Regions from separate parts of the Homo sapiens genome. Here all the other regions are linked to region 1. The links are contacts of gene promoters, found by promoter capture Hi-C in blood cells and fetal thymus (Javierre and others, 2016). All regions are on one chromosome and are shown on one strand. Each heading gives the region's core, a stretch centred on a gene start or on the middle of the fragment in contact. The rest is flanking DNA. Distances are from core to core; before and after follow the strand shown. Region 1 holds the start of TNKS1BP1 (tankyrase 1 binding protein 1). Region 2 overlaps MRPL16 (mitochondrial ribosomal protein L16). Region 3 overlaps STX3 (syntaxin 3). Region 4 overlaps PATL1-DT (PATL1 divergent transcript). Region 5 overlaps OSBP (oxysterol binding protein). Region 6 holds the start of TRV-TAC1-1 (tRNA-Val (anticodon TAC) 1-1).

Region 1 (4,316 bases), core at 798-3,297:
GAAATTAAACCAAGAGGCACAGCCTGGTGGTAGAAGCCTGTCACATGAGCTTCAGGATCTGATATACCAAGATTCAGTGCTGGGTGGGTCTACCACTTTCTAGCCCTGTGACTTCTCCAAGCCTCAGTTTCTCCAACTGAAAAATGGGATTATTGAGACCCTGAGGGGGCTTACATGAAATAGTACATGAAATAGGCTTAGCACAATGCCTAGCACATAATAAGTGTTCAACAAATGTTGCCTATTATTACTGTGATTCCATTCAGTGTCACCAATGAGCTAACATCCCTGATAACCACCTCCTCCTCTTCCCTGACCCCAGGCTACCAGCATTCCCAGACCATTCCTTCACTCTCCCAGGCCCTAGTCCTGTCACCTGTTCTTCAGATACTCCAACCACCTCCTCAGTTCCCATCCTGACTCCTGAAGCACTCTCCCACCCACAAAAACATGGAGACCCTGGGGGATAGGGCCCTGCACCTCTCATGCAAGGCGGAAGTTTCCCTCACCTGGTATGCAGAGCCCTGAGGACAACCCAAACTTCTCCAACCTGCAAGGGGCATTGCCTCACTTAAAGTCACCCACTCCAGCTGGTCTGGGAAGACAGCACCAAATCCTTAAAAGGGACCCCCAGTGCTCATCCTCTGCAAAATCCAACACCCCTCCCCTAACGCTGACCCTGCCCCAGGTGTTTCAAAGATGGGAGAGGGTATGAAGACAGTAGAGAAACCCAGTACTGTCAACCCATTGGTCAGTTAACCACCACGGAAGACTGCCCACTGTGGGTGGGTGAATAACTGTGCAGAGCCAGGCCAAGTGTGGTGGGGGGAGGGGCACATGATAGAAAAAATAAAATTAAAACACAAGATTGTTTCCTTGTCCTTGAACATTATTACTAGGAACATAGTGTGGGTGGTTGGAGATGGAAATTAATTGGCTCAGAACCAAAAAAATCCTTTCACCTGGGGTTCTGATGGGCCCCTCTGCGGTATGAGGGGCTGCAGCAATGAAGGCGGGCTCAGAGTCCCCAGGTGCGGAGGTGGCCACAGCAACTCAGAGACCCCAGCCAGGGGCCCCAGGTGACCAAGGCCACCAAGGCTGTGGCCAGAAGCTGCGATTCGCAGCGGTTCTGAGCACTCCCCACCCTCAAGAGACCAGGGGGTAGAGGGTAGCAGGGTAGAAACGAGCTGACCCCTGGCAGATAAGGCCTCCAGAAGGGCTGGGCAGCTCCAGCCCCGGAGGGGACTCGGCGCAGGCGGGGTCGCCCCTATGGACCCCAGGATCTCCAGCCGGATCCGAGGCTAGAGAGGTCGGCAGGGACAGCACGTAAACTGCTGGAAAGAGGGAGGGCCAACGGGAAGATGGAACAGCCCCGGGCAATGGGCTGTCTGGAGGGGCCCAGTGGGGAGCTCTGGACACAGAAGGGACGGCGGCAGCCGAAGAGGAGGAGGAGGAGGGGGCTGCGGTGGCGGCAGAAGCGGAGGACCTGTGAGCGGGCTGTGAAGCAGCCGGCGAACAGACGGTGGGCTGCAGACGTCGATCAGGTGGGGGCGGACTGGGGTGGCTGGGGGCGTGCCGAAGGAGCCGGGGGAGGGGGCTAGCGCGGCCCGGAGGAAGGGGAGGCAGGGGTCCCTCCAGCGGCTCTGCCCGCCCCCGGCCCCGCCCCAAGCCCTCGCCCCCTCCCCCCTTTCTTCTGGCTCTGCCAGCACGAGCTCCAAGCCATGCGCCCTCCGCCTCCGCGCACACGCGCCACCTTCCCCCGGGCCTCCAGCGTCCCCAGCGCCCTCGGCCCCTGCAAACTTTCCTGGTGACCCCCCGACCACCACCACCTCAACCCGAGGTGTCGGCTGGAAAGCACCCACTCCTTCCATGCCCCTCCCCCGCCCCATCCCGGACCCCGCCCCCTCCTTCGCCCGACCGCCCCCGCGCACTCACGCGCTCGCCCGGGGTCCGGCTCCGCTCGGCTCGGGGCCCCGATGCCAGTCCCCGCCGCCGCCGCCGCTGCTACCGCCGCCGCCGCCGCCGTCACCGCGGGACGAAGCCACTGCGAGCCCCGGCGGGGCCCCGCCCCAACTCCGCCCAGGTCCACGCCCCCAGGGCGCTTCATGAATATGCATGAGCCGGTTGGAACCCGGGAGTGGGAAGCCCGTGCAGAATTCGTCCCACCGTCGGCAAACAGGCGCGGCCCAGCACTCAATTATTCATGAGGCTTGCAGATGAGGGGCCCGCCCCAGTCTCAGACCGGGGCGAAACTGACGCAATTCAGCCGGGAGCGCTCGGGTAAAATGGCCACCGAGACGACTGCCTAGAGAAACTGCCTTGGCGGCCCCTCCCGGGCTCCGCCGCCTGCACAGAGCACAGTATCATCGAGCTACGCCGGCAAGAAGGTAGCCGCCGGCTGACTGAAGCGGCTTCCTGATACAACCACCTGAGTGCTGAGAACGCGCGCAACGTGGCCACCCTCCTGTGTCAATTCAGATTTAGAGCCACCGTGAAGAAGTCTGGCAGCTCTGCATTCCTCATTAGTGACCTTTATCTCCTTTTAGGCCCCTTCTCAGACATGGGTTCCTCCCTACACTGAAGTTTGTATACCCCCTTCTTCCCGTAAGAACAAAAGCTTCACATATAACTCCGTACTTTGTTGCACCACCACCAGGCTGCAACCACCACCACTCTACGCACACGCTCATCCTCCCCGACTCTCCAGGCTCAGGTTTCCACTCCCCCGGCTGCGGGAAGGACAGTCAATCCTGATTTCATTATCGAAAGCCTTGGAAGACCCTTGACTCATAGGTAAGGATGCAGCCAAGAGCTGCCTCCCCCTAGCTTGGTTGGCTAATGGAGTGTAACTGGGAGAAACTTCCTAATCAGATCAGCTCTCATTTCTAGACTCTCAGGTGGCCCATCCGGGCAGAGGCGGGTGAAAACCAATGCTCGTCCAGCCGGGAACAGAACAGGATGTACCTCGAGACTTGCTTCCCGGCTGGCCAGGAAGGCCCTGCCCAGTCTGACCAGAGCAGTAAACACCACCAATAAAAGTGGGAGCAACACACCAAGGCTACAAAGAAAGCATGAGGACATGGTTTCCAAAGTCAGTTCCCTTTATTAAATCATTTTCACAGACCAGAAATACAAAATGAAAGTAGAAATAGGCCCCAGGTAGGAGCTACAGGCCTGGCCTCACATGACCCCTGCTCCAGCAACTTGAACAGGACAAGCAGCAGCTACATCCTTAAGGTCGGGAAAGTAAGATGAGGATTTGGATCCTGCATTGCCCTGCCTCCCACCCTATCTCTCCCCAAATTATAAACAGCCATCCTTGGGAAGCAGCAGAGTTAAGACGTCTCCCCACTGCCCTAGTGACATACACACCAACAGGAGAGCATGTTCAGATGGCACAGAATCCAGGGACTGCATTTCATGAGGAGAAACTGGTACCAAAATATGGGTGGGGAGTCGGGGGGTGTGAGAAGGCAAGCGCAAAGAGAACCTTCCTCCGTTTCTACTCATCGGATCCTGACGCTGAGTCCTCTGAGCTGGGGGGAGTACTGGCTAGTTCTTCTTCTTCAGAGTCCTGAAAACCAAAGGTGTCTTAAGGGAAAAGCTGGAGTCCTGGGTGCCCCACCCACTCTTCAGTGAAGGGCCCGCAATTCCCTACCGCCCCCAACTACAGCACCCCCCTTCAGAACCTCAGAATTCCACCATCCACTCCAACTCATTACTCTTACAGACCAACCCCACACAGACACACATGCCCCTCACCCTGCCCAGCCCACAGGCCCCACATTCCTGCCGCACCTCGCTCCTCCTCCTCTTCTTTTTGCTCTTGTTCTCTCCCGAAGAGCTCTCATCACTAGACACAAACTCTTTGCTCTTGAAGCTCTCGCTTAGCTGCCTTGAGGACGACTTGGATGATGAGCCCCTAGAGGGCGTGGATTTCTTTTCCATCTTTACCTTTACTTTCTTCTTCTTCTTTGACTTGTCCCTGTATTGGCAAGAGGGAAGAGGAGCTGGGCCTTCAGGTCCCCTGTCACCATGACCAAACCTCTCCCAGCTTTAACAAGGCCTTTCCCAATCCCAGCCACACAGCCCATTTCACTCTGAACGTAAATAGCTGCGTCAGCCTGGAGGGCACCAAGGGAGAGTATCATGAGTACACCAGAAGAATCAGAGGGCACAGCCTAAAGCAGCCCAATGTGCAAAACCTACTTGATATTTCTTGCTTTATCTTTTAGAGTTCATGCAAACTGTGCACTGCACTCCATAATAGTATTTTTTTCGTTCCCCCATACCTTCAAATAAAATGGTCCAGGAAA
Region 2 (4,316 bases), core at 1,078-3,577, 2.5 Mb after region 1:
AACATTGTTTTTCAGAAATCTACTCAAATGCTGCTCCTTAGTTATGGCTTAAGAGCTACCCAAAGACTTCAGTGGGTAGGCTGAGGGGAATAGAAATGCAGAATCCTTCTTTCAGTAGCCTATATACAGTTATCTCCTACACTCACTACACACGTTTGGGCATGTAGAACTTGCCCCAGTATTTCCCCTTGTGGGTCAAGTCATATGGGCTCAGTACTTTCCGTATGCCCAGCATGTTGGCAGTGGCTATTCGCTCAAATGTCCAGGGGTTCTGGTTGTTACGTTCTCTTTCCTCTTGATCTTTTCGCATCTTCTCTAGAGTCCCGCGGCTCACAGCCTTTGCTGCGAAGGGCAACTTGTGGGCAACCTGGTCAAGGAAACCTTGCACTTCTTCAAATTCACAACGCCCACCCATCTCTACAACAAGGCGGCCAGCCTTCACAGGTGTCACGTAGTGGTCAATAGCACCTTTGCCTCCCCCCATGCGATGCCCAACACTTTTGCGAGTGATGGGCTTGAAAGGGGCTGGTACTCGCCATATGGCAAACATGTTCTTGGGGTCCATAGAGCGGTTGATTGTCAGGCGCATCATTTCAAAGTGGCCCCAATGCAGGTAGCCACCACCCAATGCCTAAAAGTGAATGGGAGAATTAGAAACACATGCGGACTTCGACATCATCTATGGGCTCATTATTTTGTCTCTTCTAGTAACTGTGGCTTCAATGATACAATTGAAAATAAAAATCTAAGTTCTAATAAGTCCCATGGAGGAAAAGCCTAGGGTACACAGTAATAGAGTGAAGGGGGACCCATTTCAGTGGAGAGCCAGGAAGGCTTCTTTGAAGAGGTGACATCTAAAGCTAAGACCAGAATAAAAAGAACTAGCCAAGGGAAAAGAGAGGAGTGTGCCAGGCATAAGAAAGGCTTATGTGGAGGCCCTGGCACAGCAGAGGGCTTGGCAAGTTGAACAGAAGCCAATGTGGCTGGAGTAGGGTGAGGAATGGGGAGAGTGGGCAGGAGGTTCTGAGAGGTCAGTGGGGGTGATTATGTAGGCTGCAGGAAGAGGACTTTGGAATATCACTCTGGCTGCCTGGTGGAAAACAAATCCTAGTGCACACCCATTTGTGTGGCTGCTGACATCAAGTCTTCATGGAAGCTACTCAACAAGTAAGGAAACAGCTGTCTTCCACATCCTATATTGTGGATGGTTTTATTTTTACCAGGGCTTGAAAAGATCTCATGATCTGATTATGGGGCACATTAGCTAGCCCCTTCCTTCTGCTTTTACGTTATTTTCACTCTACATTAAAAAAAAAAAAGATATATAACCCAAATGTTTACTGGGTACCCAGTAGCCTCTGTACATACCAGTTTAAAGAGCAACTGGTGGCAGTTCTAATAAAAACTGTGGAGGAAGAGACTAAATTATCTCAAGGAGTATGAGATTTTGTTATTCCCTAGCTTCCATCCCATTGCTGCTCGATGCTGAATTCACTCACCAAGATTGCAAAATTGCCTTCTGTAAACTCCGTAGCTTCAGTGGAAGGTCCCCGTATGTCACTTAAATTTTTAGGTTCTCTTCTTACTTTTGGCACAAGTGGTGCCCTTTCAATAAATCTAAGCTTGGGTTTTTCAGGAATGGAAACATCTAAAAGAAGCACAGACAACCAGGATAAAGTAAAACTATACATCTCAAAAGATCTATTTTCCTAGAAAGATTTATAACAGGTGAAAGTCTTAATTTCTTTCTTCTTCATTTTTTGGTAGAGACAGGGTCTCACTATGTTGCCCAGGTTGGTTTCAAACTCCTGGCCTCAAGTGATTTTCCTGCCTTTACCTCCCAAAGTGTTGGGATTACAAGTGCGAGCCACCATATCCAGCCTGAAAGTCTTAAAGTTACCACTGAACAGTAACTGTAAAGGTATATTACATTTTTGCAGATGCTTTTAGTGACACTGGAATCTTCTGGCTGTGACAGTGGCTAATGCAAATGTTTCTAAAACTTTAAAGATAGCAAAGTTTTATCCTCTGAATCCAAATGCACTTATTAATCACCAACTCTGTGCTTAACACTGTAACAGGGATTGTTTGGAAACCACTAGTTCACTTAATCTTTAAAATAACTTTATAGCCTTGGTATTCTTTCAGGGCTCTCTTTTTAAAAATTTTAAACTTGTCAAAGTTTAACACAGCTATATCAAAGGGCCAAATTAAAAATATACAGCTCAGTGAATTACCAGAAAGTGAACACATGAACACACACCACTATTACCCAGATCAACAAACAGGATATTAGGCAGGTAGTATTTTTAATCTCCATTTTATAGAAGAGGAACCCGAGGGCTAAAAACACTTTATAATCTGGTCTATGCCATCCAGTTCAACAGCAAAGCTACATACCATGTCACAAAAATATATACATATATTTCCCTGCCTCTCTGGATGTTAATGGGGGTAGTGGAAGAATACTATATTGTACATAAAAATATCTAAGTTCTCCAGCTCTGCCACATTCTTGTTGAGAAACTTACAACCTAGGAATCCTTTGATCAATGCTCTTTCTCTCATATATGCAGGGACTTTTCATGCTGAGACCTGCACAGGTCAGTGTGCCAGGTTTTGGTGGGTGGGCAAAACTTCAGGCCAGACATGTGACATCTTCTTTATCATCCTTACTTGACGATTTGGGGAAAAAAGTTAACATACAAATCATTTTTAAAAATTTCTTAAATGAACCAAGTATGGCTTTATAATGGAGACAAATACAAAATAGAAGAGTTTGAGGAAATACCAAATTATTACTATCAGAGTTTCAGAAGCTGCCCCTCAACTTCTATATGTAGCTACAGAGAATCTTAGTAATGCTTTCTTTCACCTACAAGTCAAAATGTACTTTCAAAACGTGGTTTAACAATTCTGTACAGAAGACCCTCAGATGTACAGACCCTATTCATTTTTTTTGAGGGTTCCAGTATATTTCTTTTTTAAAAAGTAAACTAGTTTTACGATATTGTGGCTTAAATTTAACAAATTAAAGCTTTTTCACATATCGTTAGATGACTGCATATATGTAAACTTATTTGGAAAGAACATCAAAAGTTCAGGTTTTTTTTTTCTTTTGAGACAGAGTCTCACTCTGTTGCCCAGGCTGGAGTGCAGTGGCCTCCTGAGTAGCTGGGATTACAGGTGTAAACTACCACGCCCAGCTAATTTTTTGTATTTTTAGTAGAGATGGGGTTTCACCAGGTTGGCAGGCTGGTCTCCAACTCCTGGCCTCAAGTGATCCACCCGCCTCCGCCTCCTAAAGTGCTGTGATTACAGGCGTGAGCCACCATGCCCGCTCAAAAATCCAGATTTCAGGCCAATGACTACTGGCTGAGTGGACCATGGGACACACACCAGTGGGAGGTTTTAGGGGAGCTATCTCATTAGACGCTGCTCCGTAAGAGCAAGGAACTTTTTTGGTTTCCTTTGTCTTTGATTTATTTCTAGTGCTCAGAATATTAGTTGGCAAAACTGTAAGCTCTAAAAACATATTTATTGAAAGAGTGAACGGGGATGGGAAACACGAGAACATTCCTATGTCATCTCCCACCCGCTCCTGGTTTCCATCAGAGAAAAGATTTACGAACAGGAGAAAGACAAGCTCTCACCTTCAAAACTTGGTACTGGGAGCAGTGTCTTTACGCCAGCACTGGCGGGGAGGAGTGCCCAGGAATCTACAAAGACAAATCAAGTTAAACGACGAAGGTAACAGGCCGGGACCCCGATACAACCTGGGCCAAAGGTACTACTTCTTATTTTTATTTATTTTATTTTTTTGAGACGGAGTCTTACTCTGTCGCCCAGGATCCAGTGCAGTGGCGCGATCTCGGCTCACTGCAACCTCCGCCTCCCGGGTTCAAGAGATTCTCCTGCCTCAGCCTCCGGACTAGCTGGGATTACAGTCGCCCACCACCACGCCCAGCTAATTTTTTTTGTATTTTCAGTAGAGACAGGGTTTCACCATGTTGGCCAGGCTGGTTTCAAACTACTGACCTCAAGTGATTCGCCCGCCTCGGCCTCCCAAAGTGCTGCTATTAAAGGCGTGAGCCACCGCGCCCGCCCAAAAGTACTTCCGCCGGAGGAGTCTTGAGGTGTGGGATGCGGATTCCACTAAATGGACTCAAAGGCTCAGGCTCCGCAAAAGGCCAGCCGGGATCTCTGGGCGCCGACTCCCAGACGCAGCTGTGACCCTCTTGCACGAACCCCTACGGTGGAGGTCGGCGGTGCGATAGCGTAGTTCCTAACCAGTGCTTCACCAAGCATATGCAGAG
Region 3 (4,316 bases), core at 1,090-3,589, 2.4 Mb after region 1:
AGCTCAGCTGATTCTTCCAGCCCAATCTGACCTTTTCAGATATGTAAAGGTGGTTGGAGATACATAAGTTACTTTACGTACCAGATAAGTAAAGAGACCTTGTATCTAATCCTCTCAACCCTGCAAAGCAGAGTGGGTTTTTCTATTATTCTCATTCTGCAAGTGAGTGAATTGAGGCTTAACAAGAAAGGCAAGGATCCTAGATTGTCTTAATCACTCTCGCATTGGTGTATAAACCATCAAGCATATAAACAACTCAAGGGAGCATCAGCAGGGTCGCATGTGCATGGTACCTGCTGACCACCATGATCAGAGCTTTGTGACCTCTGTGTGCCTAGCATCCTGCTGGGCGTCAAGTTTAGGCAGGATTGACAAAGTCCTAGTATCAAAGGGTAAATGATCACATAGGGAAGACAAAGACATGTAGTATATGACAAGAGGGCCAACAGTAATCAAAGCCATATGGTGGTAATGGAGAAGCCAGTGATGTATGGAATAGAGGTTGAAGGCTTTGGACTCCCTTGGAGACGGATCTGTAGAGGACTGGAAATGACGTGGATGTAATGGCCCTTCAAAGACCAGCACTAATAAGGACACACTAATGAAATCAACCACCTGGGGCTCTAAAGGCCAGACTAACTTTTTACTCTCTCTGTGTCTTGCTGCTTCCTAAATGGCTGTTATTGGCCTCCTTCCCCACTGGAAGCTCCAGGATCTTTGTGGAATCATAGTTCCTTAGGATAACATTATAACCCCATCAGCAACATGGAGCTGTGTACTTCTCCTTTAAAGCTTAATTTGTTAATAAATATTTATCGAGCCGCTTTTATGTGCCAGGTGCTTTGGATCATAACTGAACCTTAACATACCAATCTGCGCTTCACTGAGATTCTGTCTTTCTCTAGTCATAAAATTTCATTCAAGTCAGGATTCCTGCCTCCCCTCTTCTCTGTACCTGGGAGGATTCATTCTCTGGAAGAGCTGTTTTTCTGTGAGCAGACGGGAACCAGAGCTGAGAGTGATGGGGATTGAGTAGGGATTACAGCCCCATCAGCCGGAGGCCAGAAAATGCTTGGATGAGAGAAGAGGATTAATTTTATTTTTATTCCTGTGAGTGTGGGGGAAGTCGGGGGAATTGGCAGGAGCTAAGGGAGGGACACTTGTTCATGTTGTCCTCTCTCTCTTCCAAAGCTTCCTCCCTGCCTTTTGTCAAAATTTCTACCCATCTTCCAAAACTCATTTTTTATAGGTAGTAGTGTTCTGTAACTGCAACTTAGAATACTCTCCTCCATTCTTGCAGCTCTCACGGGGTGCATGTTGCTTTGCAGTAGGTTGTGGGTTTTTTTTTTTTGTTTGTTTGTTTTGTTTTTTTAATTACCATGGAGTGGGTTTGAAACCACTGTCCGTTGCTTTTTATAAGTTAGACCCTTTATCCCCTTTATCTTCTAGGTCCTTTTGTCTTTAAGGTCAGTGTTTCTAGTACTTCTTGTCACCACATCAATTACAATAACAACAATCATTTATTGAGCAGCTACTATTGGACAGACTTGTGCTACATACCTTACATACCTTGTCTCTAATTCTCTCAACCCTGCAAAGCAAAGTGGGTTTTTATATTATTCTCATTTACAAGCAAGGAATTGAGATATTATTCTCGTTTTACAAGTGAAGGAATTGAGTCTCAGGTTTGACTGAGATCCCCATCTGGGAAGTGGTGGGCTCAAGAATTGAACGTGTGTGTCTTGCTTCTTCGTATCCCCTTACACTGTATTCGATCATCTCCCTAACTGCACTATATGCCTCTGATGCAACAGCAGTTATGATAGTCCTCTGGAGCCCCAGGGCCTAGCACTCTGCATGGTAAGCCTGTATTAAACATTTGTCTCTTAGTTGATTAATAACAGCTTGACCCTTACACATCCTTTACTCATTATTATGACTTATTTTTCTTGCTCCATTCCCTGTGGGCTGGTGAATCTTTACCTACCTGAAGTGGAACATTTACTGAGGGAATCCATATGTTTGCTAATGAAGCCAGACCTTACAGGTCCATCCCCAAGGACGGAGTTCCAAGGCTCCTAACTACACCTAAACACCTAGCCCAAGATGACATGGAAGGTTGCCCCTATTTAGAAAGACAATGAAGGCGAAGATGTGGCTACCATGGTGAAAACTTAGGTACTCCATTTTTCTCCTGGCAAAATCCTACATATCTCCAAAGTCTCAGTTCCAGTGTCATCCAGCTTCCCAGGCTGACAGCACTGAGCATGCCTTTCCTCGGACCCCGCAAACTTTACTTTTGGTGGTGTATACAAATAGCCACATGGTATTGCAATTTCAGATGCCACTGGCTCTGTTAGTTCTTGTGCTCTGGGAGAGCACAGACCACATATGTCTCATTCTCTCTTATACCTTCCCAGCCCAAAGCCTGTAAAGCTGTAAACCAAACTGTCCTGTCAATGAATGGGGATATTCTGTAAATTTATTTGCCCGCAGATTCTGTAGTCCCTGAGGGGCCTTACCTCCAGCCACCTTTATGTTAGGCCCCTCTGCAACTGCCCCCACCCCATCTCCTCTCTCAGGGTAGCCTGCTTTTTGGCATTGGACCATTTCCATGGCAACTTTCCCCAGTCTCCATCTGGAAACTGAGTGAAGTTCAACCCCCCACCTAAAGAGATTAGTGGAGCAAATACTGTCTGGTTATGTTCAGCTGTCTGGGTTAGGACAGCTCAGTATGGCATCAGGGTTTTTTTTTTTTTAATAAATTTTTAAGTTTTAGCCTACTTTTAGATTTATGGAAAAGTTGCAAAGATAGTACAGAGAGTTCCTGTCTAGTCCTCTCCTGGTTCCCTCACTTGGTCTCATTTTATACTACAGTGTACACTTAGCAAAACTAAGAGACTTATATTGGTACATTACTATTCACCCAACTCCATACTTTATTTGGATTTCACTAGTTGTTCCACTAATGTCCTCTTTCTGTTCTAGGATGCGATCCAGGACACCACATTGCATTCGGTTGTCACATCTCCTTAGCTTCCTCTGGCCTGTCTGACAATTGCTTAGTCTCTTGTTTTTTGTGACCTTGGCGGCAGGGCTCCGGCATCTGTTTTCTAGTGCTCTGGAAGCACATTTCCTGTGGCCAGTGCTACATGCTACAGCTAGGGTGGTGGTGGAGCAGCCGTTAAGAGGCAACACTCCAGATGGCTGAGGACAAAGTCCCGGCAGCCAGCTGCCCAGGCACCCCTCCTAGCTCAGGTGCCCACTGTCTGCAGGATCTTGGTCAGGTTGCTTGGTGTCTTTATGCATTAGTTTTCTCAGCTGTAAGATGGGGAATATCCCCAGAAGACTGGCCTAGGGATTAACTGTCATGGTCAATAGAAAGCACACATCTTAGAAGGATCCTCACTCAGCACATGTTGAGTGTTTAATGAAGGTTGCGCGTTGTCACTGTTATTTAAGTATTCTAGAATGACCATGAGGGAGAGGAAGCTTGTGGGACAGAGGCTGAAAGGAGGGGTTGGGGAGAAGGCTGAGGATGGAGTAAGACAGTATTAGTTCCTTTCTTCCTCCTCTCTGTGTCCTTGAGAACTGAATGCCATGGTGGTGTCCAGAGGCCAGGACAGGAGACAGGGGAAGGGAGTGGAAGAGAGGGAAGAAGTGTGGGGTGGAGGAGGAAGGATCTAAAGGACACCTGAGATCTCCAGGAGGAAGAAGAAGGCCTTCTTTGAATCTCCTTGAATGGCTCCTGGGATGAGAAAGAAAGCAGGAAGAAGGTCTGATCTCCTCACCCTGAGTGGCCTTCTTGTAGGTTTCATTTGGGTAAATCCACACATTCCACAAAATTTCTCCAAGGAGTCACTTCTGCCAACATTCTCTAATAAGCTTCCATCTTCCCCAGGCTCAACCTTGAATTCAGGCAAGGTTGGGCACTGCGTCTTCTCTTGGGTGTGTAATTCCTTGGGCTAAAGCACTGTCCTCACGTGTCATGTGGTATTGTATCGCATGGACTGTTGCTTGGCAGATGTTAGATGTGCAATAAATACTGCCGGATGAAAGAATGAACAAATGAATCTGTTACTTTGCATGGAACATTGTGGCTGTGCTGATGGGTGATGAGACCTTGAGATGCCTCTCTGAGTTAATGAAGGAGTGAACATTGGATTAGACCACCCAGGTTTCTAATCTTGGCTGTGTTCCTTACTGTGTGATTCTGGATGAATTAACCTTCCTAGCCACAGATTCCTTGTTAGTGTACATAACATCTACCTAGAGGGCCTTTTCCCCCTCTTCTTCCTTTCTTGGGAGTTTTTGTC
Region 4 (4,316 bases), core at 841-3,340, 2.4 Mb after region 1:
GGGCTACAGGCACACACCACTATACCCAGCTTATTTATTTTTTATTTTTATAAAGACAGGGTCTCACTATGTTGCCCAGGCTGGTCTCAAACTCCTGGCCTCAGCCTCCTGCATAGCTGGGATTACAGGCGCAAACCAGCACACCCTGCTACTTCTCCCATTAGGAGGTAAGATCTATGTTCCCTTTTCCTTGAATCTGGACTGAGCTATGACTGCTTTGACTAATGGAATATGGAAGTGGAGATGCTCTGCCAGTTCTGGGTCACCTTTAAGAAGATTGGCAGTGTAAGTCCATGTAAAATACCCGGCTGCTTTGCTGAAGAGATCACATGGAAGGACCCTGAAATTACATAAAGAGGAAGGTGGGTCCAGCTCTATTTAGCTTATTAACCATCCCAGTCAAGACACCAGGTATGTGAATGAAGCTGTCTTGGACTCTTCACACCTGTTCAGCTACCAGCCAAACACTGTGACTCCATTCCATGCCATAAAGAGCGGAAGAATCACTCAGCAAAGCTGCTCCAAAATTCCTGGCCCATAGAAGTATTTTATATATATATATAAAATATAAAATACTTTATTATATATATTATATATATATATATAAAATAAAATGGTTGTAGTTTTAAGCCACAAATTGTATTGTTTGTTTTGTTTGTTTGTTGTTTTTTGAGAGGGCTGCAGTGCAATGGTGCAATCATAGCCCACTGCTACCTCAAACTCCTGGGCTTAAACCATTCCCCCACCTCAGCCTCCCCAGTAGCCAAGCCTTCAGGCACGTGCCACCACATGTGGCTATATATATATATGTACATTTCAACCACAAAGTTTTAGAGTAGTTTATTGCTCACTAATAGATAGTGGGAATGTGTCCGTTTAGAAAAATTATACAAAACTTGGAAATAAGGAAAAAGGATTGTTGTGTGCCTTGCAATGTTGTAATAAGAACATTATCTAACAAGCCTGCCTAAAGGTCATTTAAAGTTCTACAGAGAGGTAACCTTGTTTGACTTAGTGTTTATTATTAATTAATGAGATCCCAGACTCAGTAAAGTTAGATATTAGTTTATAGAAGATTAACAAGTTGCAAATTATTTTTGTCCAGTGGAGATAATTTCATTTTGGTGGGAAAGATCATCTCAAAGGAGACAGTTTTATTGCCACACAGGACATTAACCAATAATATATTTAACTTTTGAGTCTTAATTCAGCCATTTCCCCCACTATATAGTTCATAGTTTCTTGTGTCCTCCTTTGAATCAGCTTCACCACCTTGCTGTTTCTTTTCATTAATAAGATAAATAAATATTTTGACACATGCTCATAATGTAATTGAAAGAGAATAATTTTTATTTAGCTTTTTGAAAGTTATACTTTGGCAAACTATTAAACTTTTTTTTTTGCAGGGGATTCAACTCAATACGTATTTATCGAGAATCTATTATGTAAAATGGTGAGAAGTGATATCTATATTATAGCCTACTGTGCAATAGCATTATGTCTTTAAAAACGCAATGTACATACCTTAATTAAAAAATGCTTTATTGCTAAAAATGCTAATGATCATCTAAGCCTTTAGCGAATTTTAATCTTTTTCCTGATGGAGGGTCTTGCCTCGATGTTGATAGCTGCTTACTGATAAAGGCAGTGGTTGCTGAAGGTTGGGGTGGCTATGGTAATTTCTTAAAATAAGACAAGGAAGTAAGCCACCTCGATTGACTTTTCCTTTCATGACGGAAAAGTTTCTCTGTAGCATGCAGCGCTGTTTGGCATTTTACCCATGAATTAGAACTTTCAAAATTGGAGGCAATTCTCTCAAACACTGCTTTATCAACTAAGCTTGTGTAATACTCTAAATCCTTTATTATCATTTCAGCAATGTTCACAGCATCTTCACCGGGAGAAGATTCTATCTTAAGGAAACTCTTTTCTCATGCATAAGAAGCACCTCCTTACCTGTTAAAAGTTTAATCATGAGATTGCAGGAATTCAGTCACATCTTCAGGCTCCACTTCTAATTCTAGTTCTCTTGGTATTCCACCGCACCTGCAGTGACTTCCTCCACCGAAGTCTTGAACCTCTCAAAGTCATCCATGAGGGTTGGAATCAACTTCTTCCAAAGTCCTGTTAATGTTTGTAGTGTTATGAAATATATATACATATAGGTTTTCATACACAGGAAACAGAATCTCTTTGACCTTCTCTTGCCTTCCTTTTACCTGCCTTCCTTTCACCTACCCCAAAGCAGGACTCTAATCTTCTGCTTTTATAATTGTGGATCATAAGACTCATTTCAGAGAGGGTCCCAACCCATGGCCTGGGGGAAGGAATGCTGATATAATGAAGCTTCCATAAAAATCCAAGAGGACAGCTTCCTGATAGCTGAACAAGTGGAGGTTTCTGGGGAATGGCTACCTGGGGAGGGCATGGGAGCTCCGTGTCCCTTCCTCCATACCTCTCCCTGTGCATCTCTTCATCTGGATCCTTCGTGATATCCTTTATAATAAACTGGTAAATATAAGTGTTTCCTTAGTTCTGTGAGCCACTCCAGCAAATTATTGAACCCAAAGAGGGGGTCATGGGAACCTCAACTTGAAGCTGATTGATCAGAAGTTCCAGAGACCTGGACTTGCAACTGGTGTCTGGGGGGAGGAGGGAGTAATCTTGGGGACTGAGCCCTTTACCTGTGGGAACTGACATATCTCCAGGTAGTGTCAGAATCGAATTGGAGGATACCCAGCTGGTCTCCACTGCTTGTTGGTGGGGAAAATCCCCCATATATTTGGTCACAGAAGTCTTCTGTGTTGATTGTTGTGGTGTGAGAGCAGAGGACAAATGCAGTTTAAGTTTTTCCATGACAATGTTGATACTTTGACCCCTTCCTATGACTCACAAATGTTCTTTTTGCGGGCAGGGGGCAAACAAGTGCAGTGGCACGATCTCGACTCACTGCAACCTCCACCTCCTGGGCTCAAGCCATTCTCCCATCTCAGCCTCCCAAGTAGCTGGGGCTATAGGCGGGCACCATCATGCCCGGCTAATTTTTGTATTTTTTGTAGGGACAGGGCTTCGCCACGCTGCCTGTACCTGGCTTCACAAATGTTCTTAATGGCATTTAGGATGGTAAATCCTTTCCAGGTTTTTTTGTTTTGTTTTGTTTTCCTTTATCTAGTCATCCAGAAGTATCCAGAAGGTTTTCAATTTCTTTTGCCCAGATCCATCAAAGGAATCATTATCTATGACAGCTATAGCCTTACAAAATGTATTTCTGAAATAATAAGACTTGAAAGTTGAAATTGCTGTGTGGGCTGCAGAATGGATGTTGTGTTAGCAGGCCTGAAAACGATTAATCTTGTACATCTCCATCAGAGTTCTTGGGTGACCAGCTGCATTGTCAATGAGCAGTAGTATTTTAAAATAAACCAGTTTTTTTTTTTTTTTTTTTTTTTGAGTAGTAGGTTTCAGCAGTGGGCTTTAAATATTCAGTAAATCACGCTGTAAATGGATGTGCTGTTGCTATCCAGGCTTTATTGTTTCATTTACAGAGCAGAGGCCGGGTAGATTTAGCATAATTCTTAAGGAACCTAAGATTTTTTAGAAGGACAAATAAGCATTGACTTCAACTTAAAGTCACCAGCTGCACTAGCCCCTGACAAGGGAGTCAGCCTGCCCTTTGAAGCTTTGAACCTAGGCATTGAAAGTCCTAGATGGTATCTTCTTCCAATAATATAAGGCCATTTTGTCTGCATTGAAAATCTGTTGATGTAGCCACCTTCATCAATGATGAAGCTAGATCTTCTGGATGACTTGCTGGAGCTTCTACATCAAGCACTTGCTGCTTTACTGTGTACTTTTATGTTATGGAGGTGGCTTCTTTCCTTAAACCTCATGAACCAAGCTCTGCTAGCTCCAAACTTTTCTTCTGCAGCTTCCTCACCTCTCTCCACCTTCATAGAATTGAGAGAGTTAGGGTGTCTGGATTAGGATCTGGCTTAAGGGAATGTTGTGGCTAGTTTGATCTTTTATCCAGACCACTGAAAGTTTCTCCATAACAGCAATAATGCTGTTTTACTTTCCTACCATTTGTATGTTCACTGGAGTAGCATTTTTAAATCCTTTCAAGAGCTTTTCCTTTGCATTCACAACTTGGCTAGCTTCTTGGCCCAAAGGCCTAGTTTTTGGCCCATCTTGCTTTTGACATGCCTTCCTCACTAAGCTTAATCATTTCTAGCTTTTGATTTAAAGTGAGAGATGTGTGACTCTTTCTTTCACTTGAACACTTAAAGGTGATTGTGAGGTTATTAATTGGCCTAATT
Region 5 (4,316 bases), core at 1,198-3,697, 2.3 Mb after region 1:
CTTAGCTATCAAGTCATTGCACGTGCTCAAGTCCTCTACTTTGCTAGAGAGGGTCCGAAGGGTATTCTGCAGCTCAGTCTTGTCAGTTTGTGAGACAGACTCTTCATCTCCTGATTCATCTGTAGGAATGAAAAGAAAGGTTATATGATTCCAGAACCAGGAGTGACAGTTGGAACCCTACCTACTCTGTCCAGAAACAAACCAACATTCCTCATGCTGTGTGCATTCTGACTCACTGAAAACTTGCCATTACCAGATGGTTTCTCTATAGTGTGGTCCACAGATCACCTGCACCACAAACACCCCAGGTCCTTCTCAAAGGGGCAGAGTCTCTAGGCCCACCCCTAGAGACTTCAATTTAGCTGGTGTGAGGCAAAGCCCAGGAATCTGCCTTTCTAATAAGCTGCCCAGGTAACTGACACACACTGAAGTTTGAAAACCACTGACCTACAATACAGAATGGAAAAGCTGAAAGGCTCTTGGAATTGGGAATTAATTACTGAGCTCCTTAACTCTAGCTTGATGATTCCTATCTAGTCCAAGCTAACTATTTTTGCAACTCCACTATCATCTGATAGGTGACTGATGGGACCTGTATTAAATGAGTTGAGAATCACAGTCTAGCTCTTTGTAGACAAAGTCCACATTACAAAAAAGGCCATTAATTTGTCTTCTGAAAGAGAGCTCAGAAACTTTATGACTAAAGCCACCATGAAAAGAATGCAAAAACTCACTTTAAATAGCTCTCCAATAATAAGTCAAGTACAGAAGCTATGTTGTACCTCTCACACTCAACACTTTGTAACTGCAAAGTGCTTTTCTAGCAGTGTCACTTCCTTTGGAGGAGCTAACATCGGCACTAAAAGCAAGAAAAAAAAAAAAAAAGACAAAAGACCTGTCCTTTCTGCTAGACAGAGAGACGGGGCCAAAGTCAAAATATAACTTACTACCAAACAATTTACAAACCAGTGAATTCTCCTTTCACTGATGAATGAACATACAGTATGGGAAATGACAGGGGATAAGATAACAAAGTCAGCAGATGACCATCTTGGTCAGTTCTAGGTAAACAAGCTCAGTATGATTAAACTATCAATATATCAGGAGAAAATCGTACCATTTTCCTTGAAGAATAATCAAAACTTAACTTGATTGCTCCTTTTAGTTAACCAATGCAGCAAAATGAAGATTTTTCATAGAAAATATCACATATACAGTTTTTGGCAGTCTACTAAAATTGTTTCAACTTAACTAACAAAGAGTTAAGTAAGAAGGTATCAGGAGAAAAAGCACGAATAGATCCAAATTCTGAGGAATAATATTCCCAAGACTGGCCCACCAATAAAATAATTATTTCTCAAAATTTTAAGGTAGCCAATTAAAAGGCAAAAGAACAACTGTTACGCCTCTAGGACAGAATTTTTCAACCTTGGCCAGATAATTCTTTGTTTTGGCGGCTGTTTGGTATATTATAGGAGGTTCAGCAGCATCCCAGGCCTCTACTCTCTAGATGCCATAGCACCTCCCTCCCTTCAGCTGTGACAACCAAAAATGTCTCCAGACATTGCCAAATGTCCCCTGGGGAGGAGAATCAACCCTGGTTGAGAACCATCACTCCAGCAGAAATACTGCATGAAGACGAGAAGCTTGAGACCTCTAGGAAATAGGTGATAATCAAATGACACAGCATAATGATGACAAACAAAATCTGTGCATAAAAGGGGCAAAAAGAAAGTTCCCCAGGCAGGTGTTCTTTGTTCCTGACCTGACTCTGCCAGCATCTTCACAGCTTTGGCCTTGGCCAGTTCCAGGGCCGTCACCCAGCGCTGCCGCTCAACTTCTGAACTAGCTTTCAGATGGTAGGTCTGAGCACCCCCATTGGAAATGATGAAGTTGCAGGAGTCCTCCACGGTGATGTTGGCTGTGGCGAGGTTGATGGTACCACGGCAGGTATGTCTCATTTCTGCCTTTGATCTGTAATAACAAGACAAAGACAATTTAAACAGAAAGTTGACGGTTTATCCTTTATCACATTCCATTTCTTTTCATAACTCTGAGCTCCCTGAAAATATGACAGTCTTAGGAATCAGCAAGTTCTAGTCCCTCAAACGGGTCCCTAAAATTCACGAAACAATTAGTGGGGATTTCCCTTCAGAGCCTATAAGTGTTGTTTCTGAGTCAGATTTTTTTTTTTTTTTTTTGCTTTGCTGTCCCTCTTACCATTTTCCTTTTAGAAATAGGCTTTACAGGCCGGGCACCCGTAATCCCAGCACTTTGGGAGGCCAAGGTGGGCAGATCACCTGAGGTCAGGAGTTCCAGACCGGCCTGGCTAACATGGTGAAACCCTGTTTCTACTAAAAATCAAAAAAATTAGCCAGGCGTGCGGGTGTGTGCCTGTAATTCCAGCTACTCAGGAGGCTGAGGCAGGAGAATCGCTTGAACTTGAGAGGCGGAGTTTGCAGTGAGCTGAGATCCCACTATTGCACTCCAGCTTGGGCAACAAGAGCGAAACTCCGTCTCAAAAAAAAAAAAAAAAAAGAAAGAAAGAAAGAAAGAAAGAAATAGGCTATACTGAGGTATAACTACATGCAATGTTAATTTAGCAATTTTAAAGGTACAACTGAATGAGTTTTGACAAATGTACACAAGTGCATAACCACCACCACAATCAAGATGTAGAACATTTCTATCATCTCAGTAAGTTCCTTCATGCCCTTTTGCAGTCAGGAATTATCTTTTACTTAGCAAGTTGTAATTATAAATTGCCCTATAACCTCATGCAACAATCTCATTTCCTAAGAATAGCTCTATTTTATATATACCAAACCATCTCGCTCCCGACTGTAACTCAGCCCAAATGAGAACTCAGCCCAATGTTACATCATGCTTAGAGTTATATCGCAGAAGTGTAAAAAAAGCACCCTTAAATGTTTAGAGTATTAAATATTGGCTATGGTTCAAATGATATGAAATAAGAATAACTAGCTTTCTGGGGAAGTAAAAAGGAATCACCAAGTGTTTTAATCTTTCTGGAATATGTTCATTCCTAAGGTCCACCATACTCTACTGGTGGGAACTCCTAAGCCGTCTATTAATAGCTAGGAAAGATTCAGCAGATCTGCTCTCAGAGAACTGGGTGTAAAAATTTTCCCGATCTCTAGTGACTGACAGTTCTATTAATAGACTAACTTTTGAACTTTACAGCATTACTTGGTGACAACAAGCTATAAGACACTTCACATAGAATACCAAGCTTCACATAAAATATCAAGCTTCTAGCACAATCGAGTGTCTAACACAAACTGTGTCATTTCCCTACCACCCGCTGGTTATGCCCAGGAACCTGCATGTTGAGACTGCACTTTTCCCTGTCCAAATTGGAACACAGAGGTCAAAGTCCTTTGCCAACTGCCACAGTACAAAGCAGAGCCATTTCCCTTTCAGTGGAGTCAAGCAGCCAAACACACCTGGCATATCCAGAATTCCTGCATGCCAGAAATGGCACACACCCCATAAGATTTGGTATGTTTGAGAAAGTCTGGAAGACAGGTTTGTTGTTCAATTTTTCACATGAACTGCTCTTCCTTCCTCAAATAGTATGGGAAGGCCAGAAGGGTCTCAATGAACTGGGCCATTTTCCATCTCCTGCACCTGCCACACTGTAACATGAATCCGTTTTTTCTATTCTTACCTCCCCACCCCCAAGCTTCAGTTACATTATGAATAATGCAGGCTGAATTACAGATGCACAGCTGACAGGCCAGCTCGCTCATGTTTTCTACTCCAAGTATACTACTTGGACCTTCCTCCACATTCCTCCTTATTGGAGCTTTTTGGAAACCACTTCTTAGGAATCTCTTCTGCCTGGGTCATCATTGTAGGAATCTCTTCTGCCTGGGTCATCATTGTAAACTAAAGAAGTTTCTCAAATTACAAAAAGTCTGTAGCAGTTTAAAAAATACCAAGGAACTCTGGGAGTAAGGCAGACTTGATCTCGGAGCTCTTGAGTCTGGGCAGATACACTTATGATTATAAATGATTAGTGCAGAAGCTGGAAAGACATGAATCTCAGGGTACAAGATAGGTTCTTCAGGCACTACAATATTAGGTGGTATTTTCTGGCCAGAAAGTTCTTCCCTGAAAAGGCTAGCTGAAATAGTAATTCAATCTCTAGAAGCTAGCCAGGAGAACTAATACTATGGCCTGTCACAATGTTTCTGGGAGAGTTGGGATTCCATATAAGGTTTTAAGTAATGGGACATCTAAGTAACTGGGTACGTAAGGAAGCCCAGGATAGGTAAAGGAAGTGGTTTGCC
Region 6 (4,316 bases), core at 539-3,038, 2.2 Mb after region 1:
ATCACTTGAACTCAGGAGGTGGAGGTTACAGTGAGTCGAGATTGCACCACTGCACTCCAGCCTGGGCGACAAAGCAAGACTCCATCACCAAAAAAAAGAAAAAGAAAAAGAAAAAGAAAAAAAAGCAAAGGAATAAAGAATCACTACTCCTTAGGCAGAGCAGCCCACTAGGGCTGCTGGCTGTCCACCTTTATGGTCATTTCCTGATTATATGCTAAACAAGGGGTGGATTATTCATGAGTTTTCTGGGAAAGTGGGGGACAATTCCCAGAACTGAGAGTTCCTCATCTTTTTAGACCATATAGGGTAACTTCCTGACATTGTCATGGCATCTGTAAACTGTCATGGTGCTGGTGGGAGTGTCTTTTAACATGTTAATGCAGTATAATTAGCATATAATGAGCAGTGAGGGCACCAGAGGTCACTCTCTTTGCCATCCTGGTTTTGTGGGTTTTGGCCAGCTTCTTTACCACAGCCTGTTTTATCAGAAAGGTCTTTATGACCTGTATCTTGTGCCGACCTCCTATCTCATCCTGTGACTTAGAATGCCTTAATCTCCTGGGAATGCAGCCCAGTAGGTCTCAGCCCTATTTTACCCAGCCCCTATTCAAGATGCAGTTGCTCTGGTTCCAAGGCCTCTGACAGAAGGTTGAAACATTAGAAAATGTTTAACTATACAACAATCAGGAGAAAATATAGAATAATTTTTGAAATATAATCTCAAAGTGAGTAAGTATTTTCTAGGCAGGAAATGTTAAAAGCCCCTCTCCTGCACCCCCCCCAAAAAGATGATGAAATTGACTTCAAAAAAATGTTTAATTTCTACATCGCACGGAATATCAAAAATATAATCAAAAGACAAATGGCAACTCTGGATACATTTGCAAAATATATCCTAAATCTGAATTTACAAAGAGCACCTAAAAACCTATTTATTTATTTATTTATTTAGAGACGGAGTCTCGCTCTGTCACCAGGCTAGAGTACAGTGGCACGATCTCGGCTCACCGCAACCTCCGCCTCCCAGGTTCAAGCGATTCTCCTGCCTCAGCCTCCTGAGTAGCTGGGATTACAGGTGCATGCCACCACACCCAGCTAATTTTTGTATTTTTAGTAAAGACAGGGTTTCACCATGTTGGCCAGGATGGTCTCGATCTCTTGACCTCATGATCCGCCCTCCTCGGCCTCCCAAAGTGCTCAGATTACAGGCGTGAGCCACTGCGCCCGGCCTAAAAACCAATTTAAACATAAATTAACAGAATATATACATAAGAAAATTGAACAAAAGAGGTGAACAGATAGTAGGAAGAAAGGAAGCTTTTAAGTACATGAAAAACGTTCAACCTAACTCACAATAAAAAAACACAAAATAAACCATTTCCAGCTGACTCAAAATTCAGTTATTTTCATTTGAGAGAGACAGGAAGAACAAGGGCTTTCATATTGGTGTGAGTGTAATTTGATACAAGCTGTTTTGAAAGGAGCTGTGGCAGGGTTGGTGGGGACGAGCAGGGAGGTTGGTGGGACGGGTTTGCAGAGGGCGTCTCACTTTTTTGCCCAAGCTGGTTTCAAACTCCTGGGTTCAAGCCATGCTTCCACCTCGGCCTCCCAAAGTGCTGGGATTACAGGTGTGAGCCAGTGCGCCCAGCCATCAATTAAATTTCTTCTGAGACATAAAGGCAACACTCTTCTTGCTTGGGTTGGTACTGTGTTCTGTCCCTGACCAGGGGTGTAACCCTGGGCCATTTCTTAATCTCATTATGCTTCCTCTCCCTCGTCTGTAAAACGGGATAAATAATAATAGAGACATTGTGAACATTAAGTTAGCTACCCATGTAAGTGCCTGTTCAAGGTTTTGCTAGGATTATTTTACATATTGCCCTGCCTGAAACCAAGGAACAAGGAAATCTGCTCAGCATTGTTCCTAAGACTAGATACAATTTAAGTGTTCATCAAAAGGCATAAAGAATTGTGATATATCCAAACACAGGAAGTAAAAGGATAAGCGAAGATGTATGAACGAAATAGGAAGATTTTCAGAATATTGTTGAGGAAATGGGAGCGGTACCTATGTGTGCTACCTTCGTACAAAAAGCGTGAAGTGGGTTTTAAAGTAAATGTACGTGTATACTGGTGAATGCATAGACAATTTCTGAAGGGTCACAAAAGAAACAGCTAACCATTGAAAGATGGGATGGAAACATCAGTTGTGAAATACGTGGAGGGATTCTGAATTCTGTGCATGAAATTAATTTTTCAAAAAGCTTTTTTTTTTTTTTTTTTTTTTTGAGACGGCTCTCTCCCAGGCTGGAGTGCAGTGGCGCGATCTCGGCTCACTGCAAGCTCCGCCTGCCGGGTTCACGCCATTCTCCTGCCTCAACCTCCCGAGTAGAGTAGCTGGGACTACAGGCACCCGCCACCACGCCTGGCTAATTTTTTTGGTATTTTTAGTAGAAACGGGGTTTCACCGTGTTAGCCAGGATGGACACGATCTCCTGACCTCGTGATCCGCCCGCCTCAGCCTCCCAAAGTGCTGGGATTACAGGCATGATCCACCGCGCCTGGCCTCAAAAAGCATTTTTAATTTAAATAAATAAAGTATGAGGGCGGCCTTCGTGATGTCCTTCGACTTAGTGGTGGCAATTTTTAGAGATGGCCCAAGCAAGGCTTAGGAGAAGGTAGGTGAGCCAAGGGGCAACACCCAGGAACCCAGAAGCCGGCTGGCCAGGTAGTGGAAAGGCGCAGGCGCAGGGGCGAGCGAAGCCTCGGTGGAGCGGAGCCGCCTGCACCTCCAGAGAGGCGCCATACGGGGGCCGCCGCGGAGGCCGACTCAGCGCCGAGCGCTAAGAGAAACCGGGCTGATGCAGCAGGCGGGAAACAAGCCGTAGAAATTCTTGAGACACGGGTTCGTCGCCAGCTTCCTGGTGCAAAACCCAACACCTGGCTCACAAAACGCTAGGTAACATCTCATGGTTCCACTGGGGCTCGAACCCAGGACCTTCTGCGTGTAAAGCAGACGTGATAACCACTACACTATGGAACCCCACACGACTAAAACGTTCCTCCAGGATTTGATAATTGTTCAAAAAGACATTTTGGCACTGGGAAATGGTCATGTAGACTTGACATCCGGCGATTGTGCACAGAGAAAAACTTTCAAAAGGATTCCTCATTTTCCAGTATTCAGAGGAGCACGACCGCACAGAAACATTGTCAAAATGTCTGCGTCTCCAGCTTCCTGAACCAAAACCCACGATTGGGCTCGCAAAATGTTAATACTAAACATTATAAAGAAAGGAAAGAAAAGAAAAAGGTATGAATCACGCCGTGGTTCCACTGGGGCTCGAACCCAGGACCTTCTGCGTGTAAAGCAGACGTGATAACCGCTACACTATGGAACCGCGTGCGGAATGGCTGTCTCTGGATTTAGCAATTCTGCATAAAGACATGTTAACAACGTGGACTGAAAGGGATTTACTGCTCAGCGATCACGAAAAGAGAAACTTTCACCAGGATTACAGACTTTCCAGTGTAATTCCTACCCACGCTCTCTTTAGAGACAAAGGTTCCACACTTACTTGTGGAAAGAAAGTGCCTCCCCTGATGTGTTCATCGCGGAGAGGTCGCACGTGTCTGGCTCTGTGGCGCAATGGATAGCGCATTGGACTTCTAGATAGTTAGAGAAATTCAAAGGTTGTGGGTTCGAGTCCCACCAGAGTCGCTTTTTGTTTGAAGAAGAGCAAACGGAAAGTTAGGCGGAGGGAATGGATATAAAATAGATGAAACGAGAACTGTCTACCATTTAAAATTTCCGGAATGATGTGAATTGCAGCTAATTGCAGTTCCTGGTTATGTCCCTTCACTTGAAGGCGTAAAGAATCCCGTTCCTCTATCGAGCCTTTTCTCCTTCACTTTTACCTGGCCCCAGTTTCTAGTGGCGAGATAAAGAAATTAGGGAAATATAATCAAAGTTACCAAGTTTTTTCCCCATATTATTCTTTTATATCAGGAAAAAAAGTAATTTTAAATTGTTCCGAAACTTTAGTCGCCTAGTGTTACCCGAGTTGCTTTAAAATAAAACATTGTTTTATCAGTTACCAGAATGGCCGAGTGGTTAAGGCGTTGGACTTAAGATCCAATGGATTCATATCCGCGTGGGTTCGAACCCCACTTCTGGTAAAGAGGAGTTGTTTTTCCTGGCAAAAACCTTTTTTCCTAATCCTTGACAATCCATTTTGCAATCTTAAGCGTCCAGATAACAATAACTATAGTTAATATCATTTTGCCAGATACCTTACATATAGCGACAGCTTCAC

The links. Contacts are between HindIII fragments. The CHiCAGO score rates a contact against its expected background, and 5 or more counts as called.
Region 2: a fragment that was not itself captured here is called in contact with the fragment with the promoter of TNKS1BP1 in region 1 in 2 of 17 cell types (naive CD8 T cells and naive CD4 T cells); the score reaches 6.8 in naive CD8 T cells.
Region 3: a fragment that was not itself captured here is called in contact with the fragment with the promoter of TNKS1BP1 in region 1 in 1 of 17 cell types (naive CD8 T cells); the score reaches 5.3 in naive CD8 T cells.
Region 4: a contact is called between a fragment that was not itself captured here and the fragment with the promoter of TNKS1BP1 in region 1, in 1 of 17 cell types (total CD4 T cells). The highest score is 6.5, in total CD4 T cells.
Region 5: a contact is called between a fragment that was not itself captured here and the fragment with the promoter of TNKS1BP1 in region 1, in 1 of 17 cell types (naive CD8 T cells). The highest score is 6.6, in naive CD8 T cells.
Region 6: a contact is called between a fragment that was not itself captured here and the fragment with the promoter of TNKS1BP1 in region 1, in 4 of 17 cell types (total CD8 T cells, activated CD4 T cells, non-activated CD4 T cells and 1 more). The highest score is 7.5, in total CD8 T cells.

What each region holds. Positions count from the first base shown.
Region 1 is chr11:57,322,905-57,327,220 of GRCh38, forward strand. TNKS1BP1 (tankyrase 1 binding protein 1) reads right to left here and starts at 2,048. Exons shown (of 12, transcript NM_033396.3): 1 at 1,936-2,048. SSRP1 (structure specific recognition protein 1) reads right to left here. Exons shown (of 17, transcript NM_003146.3): 16 at 3,799-3,985; 17 at 3,084-3,574. The coding sequence ends at 3,503. RefSeq lists a silencer at 1,852-2,131 and enhancers at 2,262-2,311, 2,341-3,214. The HindIII fragment of the contact is 11,807 bases long and covers 1-2,615 here.
Region 2 is chr11:59,806,202-59,810,517 of GRCh38, forward strand. MRPL16 (mitochondrial ribosomal protein L16) reads right to left here. Exons shown (of 4, transcript NM_017840.4): 2 at 3,654-3,719; 3 at 1,500-1,648; 4 at 1-631. The coding sequence ends at 146. Among named protein-coding and RNA genes, the nearest start is that of MRPL16, 2.4 kb to the right of the region's middle. The HindIII fragment of the contact is 1,415 bases long and covers 1,621-3,035 here.
Region 3 is chr11:59,759,073-59,763,388 of GRCh38, forward strand. All of the region lies in intron 1 of STX3 (syntaxin 3), which reads left to right. Among named protein-coding and RNA genes, the nearest start is that of STX3, 5.9 kb to the left of the region's middle. The HindIII fragment of the contact is 2,301 bases long and covers 1,190-3,490 here.
Region 4 is chr11:59,673,521-59,677,836 of GRCh38, forward strand. PATL1-DT (PATL1 divergent transcript) reads left to right here. Exons shown (of 4, transcript NR_187296.1): 2 at 56-167; 3 at 1,407-1,453; 4 at 1,877-2,521. Among named protein-coding and RNA genes, the nearest start is that of PATL1-DT, 6.4 kb to the left of the region's middle. The HindIII fragment of the contact is 507 bases long and covers 1,838-2,344 here.
Region 5 is chr11:59,608,616-59,612,931 of GRCh38, forward strand. OSBP (oxysterol binding protein) reads right to left here. Exons shown (of 14, transcript NM_002556.3): 2 at 1,766-1,974; 3 at 1-119. Among named protein-coding and RNA genes, the nearest start is that of OSBP, 5.0 kb to the right of the region's middle. The HindIII fragment of the contact is 1,607 bases long and covers 1,645-3,251 here.
Region 6 is chr11:59,547,659-59,551,974 of GRCh38, forward strand. It overlaps TRV-TAC1-1 (tRNA-Val (anticodon TAC) 1-1), which reads right to left and starts at 3,043; the gene lies at 2,971-3,043. The region is part of intron 3 of LOC102723575 (a long non-coding RNA gene); the gene reads left to right. It overlaps TRV-TAC2-1 (tRNA-Val (anticodon TAC) 2-1), which reads right to left and starts at 3,401; the gene lies at 3,329-3,401. It overlaps TRR-TCT3-2 (tRNA-Arg (anticodon TCT) 3-2), which reads left to right and starts at 3,636; the gene lies at 3,636-3,721. It also overlaps TRL-TAA3-1. RefSeq lists enhancers at 2,640-2,859, 3,015-3,516. The HindIII fragment of the contact is 947 bases long and covers 1,316-2,262 here.